Regions from separate parts of the Homo sapiens genome. Here regions 1 and 3 are each linked to region 2. Evidence: promoter capture Hi-C in human tissues and cell types (Jung and others, 2019). All regions are on one chromosome and are shown on one strand. Each heading gives the region's core, a stretch centred on a gene start or on the middle of the fragment in contact. The rest is flanking DNA. Distances are from core to core; before and after follow the strand shown.

Region 1 (4,162 bases), core at 1,451-3,950, 570 kb before region 2:
GGTCTTGATAGTGTGGGTCACATTGGTCCATTTTAAGAAAGGATAAAATTTGCTTTTGTTGACAGCTACAGCTTGTCCCCACTGTCTAAACAGTACTAGACTTTGGAGGAGACAGTAGGTCTGAGACTAATTTAGTCACTGGTTATTCGGACACTCATAGGACTGGGCCAAAATGGGAACAAGGACTCTTCGAATAGCAAGGTCATTATCTCAGTGTTGAAGGAACATTTGAAGTTATTAAACTTTGTTCTCATCAAATGGGGGAGTCTGAAATATGTTTTTCCTCACCAAAAACCCGATGTCCTGTAAACCTCAGCCTGACTCACTTGAAGATTTGTTATCTTCTTTTTTTTTTCTATAACCCCCAATATTTAATCACTATGAGACACATAACCTTCTAATTCTTAGAAGAGTATTTTCTTTGGCACCACACAAGCCCTATATAGCAGGAAGGAAATATGAGGTTCAGAAAGAGTCTAGTCTCAGTCTTACCTTTAACTTCACTGTGTGACCCTGGAAAAATATCTTTCTTCTCTACTCCCACTGCTACTGCTGTATTCTAGATCTTCATCATCTGTTTTGTTTTTATTAAAATAATTTAAAAAGCGATATCAAACTTAGTTTTTCTGGGTCATTTGAGAATGAGTTGCTGACATGACCCTCCATCAACCCCACATTATTTCCTACATAATAAGATGGTTGTGTAAGTACAATGCAACCATCAAAATCAGGAAATAAACACTGTTACATTACTATTATCTAATCCTCATACCCATTCAAGCTTTGCCAATTGTCCGACTGTCTTTTACAGCAAAAGAATATAGTTCAGAATCACGTGTTACATTTAGAAGCTACATCTTTTTAGTGTCCTCGGTCTTTCCTTAACTTTGATAACCTTGACACTTCTGAAGATTACAGGCCAATTATTTTGTAGAATATCAGATAAAGCAGGTGTTTTATAGAATGTCATCACCAGTCTTACGTTATGCTTCTTTGGTAGTAAATATTACAGAACTGGTGCTGTATTCGTTTCATTGCATCCTTTTAGATGGTAGTGGTTTTGGTTTGTCCCATGACTATTGATGTTCATTTCAGCATCTTGCTTAAGGTGGTGTCTACCAGCCTTCTTCACTGTGAAGTTACTCTTTTCTCTTGTATAATTAATAAGTATTTTGTAGGCAGTACTATGTAAATATCCGTTTCGTTGCCAAACTTTCAGTGTATTTAGTTATTTATATCAGTATGGACTCATTTTATTTAATGGGTAATAATCTATTGCTAGCATCATTTGTTTTGGTGCTCAAATTCTCTTTGGTTTGGCCAGTAGGAGCCAAATCAGAAGTTGGCTTCTGTCAACTTTTGATATGTCCCTATCATTCTTTGACTACTTCCTTGCTTTCTAGCCCAATAAGATGTTCTAGGTTCATCCTGTACTTTCTCTATACCAGCCAAGGAATCCTGATGTGTGTGTGTGTGTTTTTTTTTTTTTTTTTTTTTTTTTTTTTTTTTTTTTTAGTATTAAATGGCATTTAGAATCCAAAATCTGGTTCCTAGATAATGCTCATTGTTATTGGACCATTGCTGCTCCCAGGCCTTCTCATAGACATAATGAGGAAATGAGGTTCTGACACCCCCATCACAGGCTCTCCCTACTGTGTGGATGCCCTCCTTATCTTGCTTGGGCTTTGGTACCCTATAGCAGGGTGCTCTTCCATGACAACTCTTTCTTAACTGTGGTTGGCTTCTGACACACTACACCAGGGCACCCCTCTCTCCTGATACGGATGCCTTCCTTGCTATACTTAGACTATGATATTCCACACCAGTCCACCTCCCTGCCCCAAATGTGGATGCTCTTTTCACCCTGCTTGGGCTCTGATTCTCCTCACTAGACTACTTGTCTCTTCCTCCCCCTCCTGATGGACTCACCCTGCTTAGGTCTGACCACAGTGTTGGGCTGCCCTCATCATCTCTTAACTAGACTTTTTTTTTTTTTTTTGAGATGGAGTCTTGTTCTGTCGCCCAGGCTGGAGTGCAGTGGTGCAATCTCGGCTCACTGCAACCTCCGCCTCCTAGGTTCATGCCATTCTCCTGCCTCAGCCTCCCGAGTAGCTGGGGCTACAGGCGTCTGCCATCATGCCCAGCTAATTTTTTTCTTTTTTTGTATTTTTAGTAGCAACGGGGTTTCACCGCGCTAGCCAGGATGGTCTCGATCTCCCGACCTTGTGATCTGCCCGCCTCGGTCTCCCAAAGTGCTGGGATTACAGGTGTGAGCCACCGCGCCTGGCCTTAACTAGACTATTATAACACAAAGCCTCCTAACTGATCTCCTTGCTTTCAATCTTCTTATACCTTTCACATTTCTGCAAGAGTGATCATTCTAAAATATAAGTCAAATCATGCCACTGCTCTGCTTAAAAACATTGTAATAGTTCCCTTTTGCTTAGAGAATAAATTTCAAGTTCCTTGGGCTGTCATTCAAGGATCTCTAGTATCTGACCCAAAGGTACCTTTCGTCCTCATTTCTTATTAGTTCCTTGGTATACTGTGCACTCCAACTATCGCCACTGGCTACTCCTTAGACATACCCCAGTACATTTACTCCTCTGGCTTTTTGCCTTTATCCTCTCCTCTGTCTGGCTTAGCCAACTCTCTTCACTGTCTGATAAAATCCCTCAGAGTCCTAGTTCAGATGTCTGCTATGGATGTCAGAGCCTGAATACAGTGAGGAAGATAACAATAAGAGGAAGGAATTACCTGGTGAAACCTCTCTGACCTCTATAGTCATAAACAGTCCCCTTTTTTTCTACTTCTGATGGAGTATTTACTTCATTCTCTCTCTTTTCACAATCAGCTGTTTACATATCTGTTGCCTCTGATTCATTGGCTGCTCCTTGAATGCACTCAACACAGGGCATTGCATCTAGTAGACCCTCAGGGAATGCTGATGGAACTTGTCAAGGGAATGAATTTTGGATGGTGAAGTTACCACAGCAGTGAATCTGTTGCTTTCATTTGAAGTCCATTCACAGGTCCCACTGAGGTCTGAGAGGCTCTGACTACAAGAAAGGGTTTGGAGTCTGGCATCCTTGGGTCTAGATATCTGCCCTGTGCCAGAGCTCTTTCTGAGAAAATGATATATTCACACTATTCTCCTCTTTAGTAAATTCCAAATATGTCTTTAAAAAAAAATCTACACTGTCATCCTAAATAAAATAATTCCTAGCTACAGGAATATAGGTATTTAAAGCTGCAAATAATAGCAGTGACATCATCCTACTAAAAAAGCCTGCCCCAAATTGTCTGAAGGCCAGCATTGTGATATGTGTCTCCTGACAGCCTATCCCTGCAGAGACCCTCAGTCTGTCTCTGCAGAGACACTTAGGCTGAAGTGTCAGCAAAGGAGGGTTTTAGACTTTCTCAGTGACTTTACCAGTCTGCACTTTTTGGAGCTGTGTGGGAAGCATCACAGGCTAGGTTCCTTGTAGCATGTGGGGGTTTCTAGAGGGGAAGAGAAAGATAGGAGTCTGTATTTCTTTAGATCCCACTACCAACCCCATTTGCTCCAGCCATAGCAGCATCTTGAACTTTTCTTGTTCTGATCATTCATTCTTCCGGGGCTTTGTCCAGGTTTTCTTTTCTACCCTGAGATTGAACTGTCTGATTTCAAAGCCTAGGCTCTTTTGTGTTTCATAATCATAGCACCGAATTTTTTTTTTTTTTTTTTTTAAAGATTGCTCATTTTTGCTTTTCCTGTCAGGTTTTCAGTCTCATTAAAATAATTTCTAAATTGAGATCAGAATATTTTCTAATATACAGATTCAATTTTTGCCTCCACAGGGGTTGAATCAAGGTATACTTACCTACAAGACTAACTCTTATTTTGATTTGGCCTGAGACACAGTAGAATGTTCCCAATTTAAGATTAGCACTATTCCATCTGCCTGGTGCTAATTGAAACTGAAGAGGAAGGAAAGCTTTTATTCTATAATTGTTTGGAGAGCAGCATGGAAAACTCCTTAGAATGTGATGAACTTGATATTTACTAGGTTTATAAGTTTTGGCAAGTGTTAAGCTCTCTGTGCCCCGATTTTCTTACCTGTAAAATGAGGGTAATAAAGCCAATTTTTAAAGGGCTGTTATTAGGTTAAATGATATGATT
Region 2 (4,140 bases), core at 197-2,696:
CTTAGCCTAAATCATGGTCATAAGAGAATAGTACTAAAGTCCTGAAAACTGCAAAAAGTGTTCTTTTTTTTTTTTTTTGAAACTTAGCCAATTACCAGAACAGAATAAAGTGGGACCATTTGTCATGATATGCTTGCCTCTTTCCTACAAAGCCATGCACAGATGCCTGAGAACAGGACTCAACAATGAGAAGGTTAGCTAAGAAGAGTTTCACTTCACGTCCTGAGAAGTAGATCCAACTAAAAGAAGGCAGTAATCATTAGCCAAAGGATAGTCTTTGCACTTTGCCAGAAGCAGGTACCTAAAAGAAGGATCAAATATTGTGCTCTCAAAACCTGATTAAATGATAGAAAAAGAAGTGGCAGATTTCTCCTAGCCTGGCAGGAAAAATCGTCTAGGAAAACAGACAGACACCCACATAGGCACACAGAACAAGCCCAACCTGACCAGCAGTGCCTGACAGAGCAGCCGCTAAAGAAGAATGCTTAAATCCTCAGAAGGTGCAGTCGGTGGAAGTAGTGTCCTCAGATGACCCCTAACTCCTAGATAGTTGGATAGGACAGAATGGAGCAGGGACTTGGTCCTCTGTGCTCTTGGGAGCCTGGCAGGGGCAGAAGGTACAGGCTAGGTGCAAGATGCCTTCGACTCCTGGTGCAAGATGACAGTTGAATAATCATACTCAGAGAGCAGATGACCTCTGGTACTTGAAGACATCCTGGGGGATAGGGGTGGGATGGTTCAGATCTCAGACTAGTGAAACTGTTCCCTGGAGGTGAGCAAGGAGGTCTAATATTCCAGTGAAAAGGGAAGGGAAAGACGGTAGAATTCTCACGGATTGGGGGAAAGACGAAGCTAGGAACTGTACCCTTCTGGTGGTGGCAACAGCAGAGCAGGTGTCCTGGGCCCTCATTCCAAGGGGCAGGGTCCTCCACTCTCCCAGCCTGGCCCCACTCCGCTCTCGGGCAGGAATTCCCATTCCCAACCCGGCTCTTCAGGCTTTCCCCCTTAGGTCCAGCAGGGGCTCCCCACTTCCCACTGCTCTTCTGCCCCCCCAATCCTCAGGCCCCCTTCCTCCCTCCCAGACCCCGGTACTCCTCCCTCTACACACTGGACTCCCGGCCCGCTCCTCTCAGCCTCCCGCTGGCCCAGGGCGCCGCATTCCAGCTCCCGGGGCCAGGCCTGGCACCTCCCTTCGCGGCCAGGTTCGCTCTTTGCCTTCCTCACACGGCGTCTCCTCAGCCCGGTGCCCTCTCGCCCCCACTCCCCTCCTCAGGCCACACTCACAGAACTCGGCGATGTACCAGGTCACGGAGTAGTTCTCCTCGCACCAGTCCAGCGTGGAGGTCGTGGGGCCCCAGTAGCCCTCTCGGTCCGCGGCCGGAGCCATCACGCCGCCGCCGCCGCCGCCCAGGCGCTCCGCTCACTGTGCCGGGTTAGGCTGGCGACCAGGCCGGCTCCGGCCCAGCCCGCGCGCTCGCTCGCGCCCCGCCCGGCCCTGCCTCCCCGAGGGGCGGGGCCTGGCGCCGTTACTGACACTGCCCTGACGGAGGCCCCGCCCACCGGCGCCGCTGGGCCGCGGGGCCGGGCCAGGCCCGACCTGGTGTAAGGCCCACTCGGAGGGCGCCGGCTGGCCCCGCCCCTCTTCACCCTTGGGCGGGGCAGGGGCGTGATCCAGGAAGGAGCCGGGGGCCTGGGCTTCCTGGCCGGTGCAGACACGCCAATGGCCGTAGGTTGGGGGTTCCTGACATCCCAGAGGCTATATTCTGTCAGGATGTGCCAGAGCCTCTATTTGTGTGCGTGTGGTTTGATTTAATCGGGGCGGGGGTGGGATGAATACTTCTATCAAGCCCTTGCTTGATTAAACCTGTGCGGCGAAGCGCCTCTATGTCTTCCATTGAGCCACAGGCCTCAAATGGAGCCCCAAAACAGAGTACCCCCAACCAATCCCCGTGATTCTCAGGAAATAAACCGTGATTTTCTGATAAAGGTGTAAGTGTCTCTTCGGTACAAAGGGAAAGGGTGAACAACCCAGGACCGAAAAAAAAAAAGTAGGTTCTGAGATCCTAAAAAAAAAGAATGCTGCTAGCTAGAGCACTAAAGCAAAGTTTCCCTGCTTCGTTTGGGCCTCCAAGCACAGAGGTTTCCACGTTCTAACTATAATTGTGCCCTGCTCTTCAGGCAACCAACAGCCTACCCCTACTTCCAACTTCAAGTCTAATACTCCCAGCCCCCGTCTGGGAGTATCGTAGACGGCAAAACCCCGTGTCTACGAAAAATACAAAAATTAGCTGGGCGCGGTGGCTCAGACGTGTGGTCCCAGCTACTTGAGAAGCTGAGGTGGGAGGATCACTTGAGCCCCCGCGGTGGAGATTGCATGCAGTGAGCTGAGACTGTGCCAATCCAGCCTGGGAGAACAGAGCGAGACCCTGTCTCTAAATAAATAAATAAATAAATAAATAAATAAATAAATAAAAAGTCTAGTACTCCACAGGTCTGCCAGAGAGCTCTTCCTAAAACAGATGCAACCACCCTTGCCCCTAGTGTTCAGCTACACCAAACTCAAACTTTCCCCTCTCCTAGAATGCGCTGGGTCACCTGCCTTTGCTCCCACAGTTCAACTGGGACAGCCTAACTCTCTTCTCCGTTTGACCAACTCCCCACTCTTCTTTTAAAATCCAGCTCTCTGAAGCCATCCCAGATGTTTACACCCTAGAGCTTCCTTGCCCTTTGTTCACATCCTACTGTGCTACATCCTGATCAGAGACCTTGCTTTCCCTTCTTTATGGTCTTAGTATTAGGACTCTGCCTGAATACACAGTAAGAAATGAAGAGTAAAAATGAAGGATGATACAACTGCTATTTTCTAAATAAATAAGTCAGATGTGGTGCAAGTCAAAGGTAAAAGAGAGGACAAGGAGAGATGAAGAGCCCACAGCCTTTCTACAAAATAACCATAGCCAATTAGCAGGAAATAGATGCAGAACTTTTATTTGCTAGGTGCAAAACCTAGGGAAGCAGTGTATCTTTTTTTTTTTTTTTTTTTTTTTTTGAGACAGTCTTGCTCTGTCGGCCAGGCTGGAATGCACTGGCATGATCTCAGCTCACCGCAACTTCCGCCCCCTGGGTTTAAGCGATTCTCCTGTCTCAGCCTCCAGAGTAGCTGGGACTACAGGTGTGCACCACCACGCCCAGCTAATTTTTGTATTTTTAGTAGAGACAGGGTTTCACCTTGTTGGCCAGGCTGGCCTCGATCTCTTGACCTCGTGATTCACCCGCCTCGGCCTCCCAAAGTGCTGGGATTACAGGCGTGAGCCATCGCACCCGGCCGGAAGCAGTGTATTTTAATACGAATAGTAGCCTCTCTGAAATTTTTCTTTTTTGAGACAGAATCTCGATCTGTCGCCCAGGCTGGAGTGCAGTGGTGCCATCTTGGCTCGCTGCAACTTCTGCCTTCCGGGAATCGTGCCTCAGTACCCCCTCATCCCCATAGCTGGGATTACAGGAGGCTGCCACCACACCTGGCTAATTTTTGTATTTTTAATAGAGACGAGATTTCACCATGTTGGCCAGGCCAGTCTTGAACTCCTGACCTTGAGTGATCCACCCTCCTTGGCCTCCGAAAGTCCTGGGATTACAGGCCTGAGTTACACCCTGCCTGGCCTGAAATTTTTATTTTGAATGTCATTGAGCTTCTACTATATACCAGGCCCTGTTTGGCTGCCTGGGTGCTAGGACCACACAGAGGTAAACATGAAAGATCCAAGAAGGCCGTCTCCAGAGAGATAAAAGCCATTGAGGTGTGGGGAAACATCTATTTCTAGTCACTTTATCTCATATTCTAAAACTTCCGTTTTGTTTATGTGTTTATGTAATAATCATGAGCATATATAATTTATAAATGAATGAAATATTTATATATTTATATGCTCAAAATGAATATGCAAAAACTCATACGCAAAAGTGATTTGCCGATGAGGTGTGCAATCAGAACAGTGCAGAGACCACAACAATAGAGTATGATCATTCTTAGCTAGGAGTAAAAAAAAAATTAGGGTGTTGTGGAACCCCCTATGTGAAAATAACCCCTGACCCAGCCAAGTGACTCAAGGCAGGATGAGGCCTTGGCTGAGTCAATACTCT
Region 3 (4,417 bases), core at 467-2,966, 610 kb before region 2:
TGGGAGAGTGGCTTCAATTATTCATCCGTTTACTATAAAATTATGAGTCCTTCTCCACCATGTGCCAGACCCTGTGCTGGGCAGGATGTTCAGCTATATACAAGAGTGCAGCCCAAGTCTTTAAGGAGCTAGAGATAATATGACATGATAAGTGCTGAAATGAAGAGATGAAATAGAGGGATGAAAAAAGGTGGTATATGATCATAAAGGGGGGGAGAAAGCTGCCTTTCTATTTGTTTCCCTCAGTTTAGGAATAATTTGTCAAACAAGCATCATTTTGACAGGCAGACTTTTAAAAAATTTTAAGAGGTCATGGGCTTTGTTGGGGAAAACTAAAACAAAAATCAAGGTGGAATCAGCAGTTGCCAATTTGAGACATTAATTCTGTTGTTGCTGGTTTTAATGAATTTTCTGATCCCTCTCCATGTTATTTTTCTAAATAATAACCAGAAAGTGGGAGAAAAATATTTCTTTTTGGCATAGTAAAGAGACAAGTTTAAGGTTATCAAAAGAATACATCTCACTACAGTTTATTGTTTATTTTTGAAAAGCGATAAACAATATGCATCTAAAAACGAGGCTTTTGACTGTTTATGATAAAGAAATGATAAATGTTTGGAGTGATGAATATGCTAATTATCCTGATTTGATTATTACGAATTATATACATCTCAAAATATCATAAATATGTACAATTATTACATATCAACTAAAAATAAAAGGAAAAATGCATTGATTCAAAATTAATAGTCAGTATATTCAAACTTGAAAATAAAAAATTTAAAAACATTCTCCCACACCAGTGTTTGCTCCTTCTGGGTCATTTTCTATGCCCATTATTAAAAAAAAAAAAAAAGTCTCTTCACAGATGTTTTAATTTCTAAGGGGTAATGTTGTAATTTGTAGTGGGTGAAAATGAAACCCTGGAAAAGTTAGGAGACCTTCTTTAGTGTCTATGTTACTGCATGACCTTGTAGAAGTAATTTTTATCTCTGTGTTTTGTCCCAACTGTAAAATGGGGATAGTAATAGTTGCTACGACTAGTTTACAGGATCATGAAGCAATTAAAATAATGACTATAAAGGAATCTTTGAAAAGTATAATTTGCTTGTTAGTTGTTAGGTGGTGGTAAGCTTACTAAAAATGGCTTATGTTACTGAATACCTGTTCTGTACCAGGCCCTATATGAGATGTTTAACATGTTCTTTTTAACCCTCAGAATAACCTTATGAGATGATTGCTGGTATCTCTGTATCATAGGTGAGGAAACCTGAGAGTCATACTAGTAAAGGGAGCTTATTTAAGGTTTTGCTGCAAGTAAGTGGCAGACCAACAATTCTAGTCCATGTGCACCTGACTCCAGCAGCTATGTGCTATTTTCAGTACAGAGGCTGCTTTTAATGTTTCTGCACAGAGGATATAGGAATGTTTTGCAAGTAAATATATTGCAGTGAGAGTTAAAGTTTCCATTTGGTATGTTTTTTTTGTGTGTGTATTAGAAGGCTTGGTGAAGACAGATTTACATTCGTTTACATTTATCATTCATACAGGAAAAATAACATCTTTCCTGGATGTTATTTTGTTCAATCTTCGTAACAGCCCTATGAGATAGGTATTCCCATTTTACGAGTTAGCAGGCTGAGGATCATATTAATAGAAGTCTTGGCTTGCTCAGAGGCACATCATTAATGAATGCCTGAATATTGATTTTAAACCACATTTTAAAATTCTAAGTGTAGTACTTTACTTTGCCACTATAACATATTGCCTTTTAAACTCTATCAAACTAAATTTTGGGGCACTAGACACATTCTTTTAAATTGGTTCCTAATCTCTTTAGCTTCTTCTCCCTAAGAAAACCCTGACTGAAGTCCACAGTTTGAACTAGAAAGGATAATTGCTGATAAAACTCTATGTCAGATGGTCATGATGTTGCAGACTTAGAAGATAATACCTCTTTACTGAAGCTGCCAGATCAGGCTTTATCCAGTATTTGGAATCACTTGTGCCTGAATATTTCCCTGTGCCATCGTAAATTTATTAACTTAATGTGCTACATTTTTCTACCCTTTTTGTAAGCCTTTTCTTTCATGAATATCTTCCTCTTCTCTCCCATTCTTTTAGTTTTTGAGATGGGGAAAGTCATGTATATGCTAGGCTTCTCCGGATTATCCCTTCTTGAGGAATAGTGTAGTAGTAAGTCTAGAAAGAACCAGAGGTTCATTCATCCCTCATGAGTTTTCGTGGTATTGATTGACTGTAGAATTCATCTAATTCTTAAGTCCATTATGTCTTGGCTTTTGTTCCTGGAGTCAGAGTTAGGTAATTTGCATGCAGGATTGGGAAATCCATTCTTGTTTATGGGCTGCTTTCTTTTATTACTTTTCTACTTCCAGCCTTCTCCAATATCCCTTTCCCTTTCAGACTGTTAAGTACTAACTGAGGCTGGCAAGAGCATTTTCTAATTTATAGAATCTGCCTTTTGAATCTTTTGGGATGGCAAATGACAATGACAGTATATGCATGGCTTCCACCCTCATCTGCCTGCCTATATCTTTAAGGTCCAGCTTTCCTTATTTCCTCCTGGATTCCCACAAAGCTAAGATTGATGTCTTCCTCACTGGTGGAACCCTTGATTTGTGTATTACTGCACTTACCAAGGGAGGGTTTAAGGAAGAGCACAAAATTTGAAGTTAGACAAAGAGCTACTTGGACACTTATTTAAATCTCTATTTGTTCATTTGAAAGAAATAATACCTAACTTACAGAATTCTTGTGAAGATTAATAATATATGTAAAAGTGAATTGTAAGATACTGAGCTATATAGATGTTAGGTAGAGTAGTTTGTAATTTTATGACTATGATTGTGTGTAGCAGTGGTTTTAATTTCGGCTATGCACTTGAATTACTTGTGAAGATGTAAAGAGTTGCCTTGGCATCTCTATTTTGAAAGGTTTATAGGTGATTCTGATATGCAAAGTTGAGAAGCACTGCCTTATATTAACAATGTTTTGCATAAATGTCTTATGTAAGTATTATATGAAAAGTAATATTTTATTGCCATTTAAAGTTCATTCATTTGCTAAATACATATTATGCATCAGGCATTGTCATAGGTTCTGAATAAACAGATGAATCATAGCCTCTACCCTTGGGTTTATAGTTTCCGGGAGAAACAGACATGTGCATAGACAATTACACTACATTGAGACAAAAAATGACAAAAATATGGAGATAAGTGCAAGTGCCATGTGAACACAGAGGAAGGGCATCTGCTGCACTTGAAATGGGGGTGGCCTGGCAAGCATTCTTAAAGGAGGTGACATCTAAGATGGGTTCTGAAAAATGATCAGGGGTTAACGAAGCACAGTCAGGGAGGGGTGAGAAGAAAGGGGAGATGATGGACCCTCTTGAAAGAGAGAGCAATATGTGAGCAGAAGATTTGAGAGCCTGTTTGGGGAGCCCTGTGTAGTTTAGTATGCTTAGAAGATAGGGTGTAAAGTGGGGAGGCGTGAGAGCAGAGAGGAGGCAGGGCCCAGATGATGAAGGGCCTTTTGTATAATGTACAAAATACTTTTACTGATATTATCTGACTTTATTCTTTGGACAATCCCCTGGGTTAGCTAGGACAGGTGTTGTTTTATATTCATTTGATAGAAGAAAACACAAAGAGGTTAATTGACTTGCTGAGGCTATACAGCACAGCTAAGATCTGAAGCCAGGTTCTTATGATTGTTTAGTTCATCATGCTTTTTCTATTACACCATAGCCGTCTTAGACTTTTGCGGTGTGGTAGGGAATCAGGTAAGCTCTGTGGATATATGCACAACAATTTGGAAGCTGTAATGTGCTAGACTGATGTTGGCTAACTCATTTTACAGATGAGGAAATTTAGGAGCAGAGACATCAAGCTGTCATTTGAAGACTTTTTTTTTTTTTTGAGATGGAGTCTTGCTCTGTCGCCCAGGCTGGAGTGCAGTGATGCGATGTCGGCTCACCGCAAGCTCTGCCTCCCGGGTTCACGCCATTCCCCTGCCTCAGCCTCCCAAGTAGCTGGGACCACAGGTGCGTGCCACCATGCCCGGCTAATTTTTTGTATTTTTAGTAGAGACAGGGTTTCACCGTGTTAGCCAGGATGGTCTCAATCTCCTGACCTTGTGATCTGCCCGCTTCTGCCTCCCAAAGTGCTGGGATTACAGGCGTGAGCCACCTCGCCCGGCCTTGAAGACATTTTTAAAAATTATTACTGTGTAACCACAGCAAGTCACTTAACCGTCCTGAGACTCAGTTTTCCTTAGCTGTCATATAAATGTGTTGAATTTGATGCCAACTTCTTTGCTTGAATATTTCGACAGTGATTCTTAACCTTCTCACCTACTCCCTGCCCTCACCCTTTCTCTGTGATACACTGGGATG

Evidence for each region. Contacts are between HindIII fragments. The study calls those that stand out against the background at their distance.
Region 1: a fragment that was not itself captured here is called in contact with the fragment with the promoter of ACER3 in region 2 in 1 of the 25 tissues and cell types used here (small bowel).
Region 3: a contact is called between a fragment that was not itself captured here and the fragment with the promoter of ACER3 in region 2, in 1 of the 25 tissues and cell types used here (dorsolateral prefrontal cortex).

Annotation. Positions count from the first base shown.
Region 1 is chr11:77,426,409-77,430,570 of GRCh38, reverse strand. All of the region lies in intron 1 of PAK1 (p21 (RAC1) activated kinase 1), which reads left to right. Among named protein-coding and RNA genes, the nearest start is that of PAK1, 46 kb to the left of the region's middle. The HindIII fragment of the contact is 5,345 bases long and covers 28-4,162 here.
Region 2 is chr11:76,858,224-76,862,363 of GRCh38, reverse strand. ACER3 (alkaline ceramidase 3) reads right to left here and starts at 1,446. Exons shown (of 11, transcript NM_018367.7): 1 at 1,285-1,446. The coding sequence starts at 1,387. RefSeq lists silencers at 1,374-1,633, 1,674-1,773. The HindIII fragment of the contact is 20,791 bases long and covers 1-4,140 here.
Region 3 is chr11:77,466,127-77,470,543 of GRCh38, reverse strand. The region is part of intron 1 of PAK1 (p21 (RAC1) activated kinase 1); the gene reads left to right. Among named protein-coding and RNA genes, the nearest start is that of PAK1, 5.8 kb to the left of the region's middle. The HindIII fragment of the contact is 6,447 bases long and covers 1-4,417 here.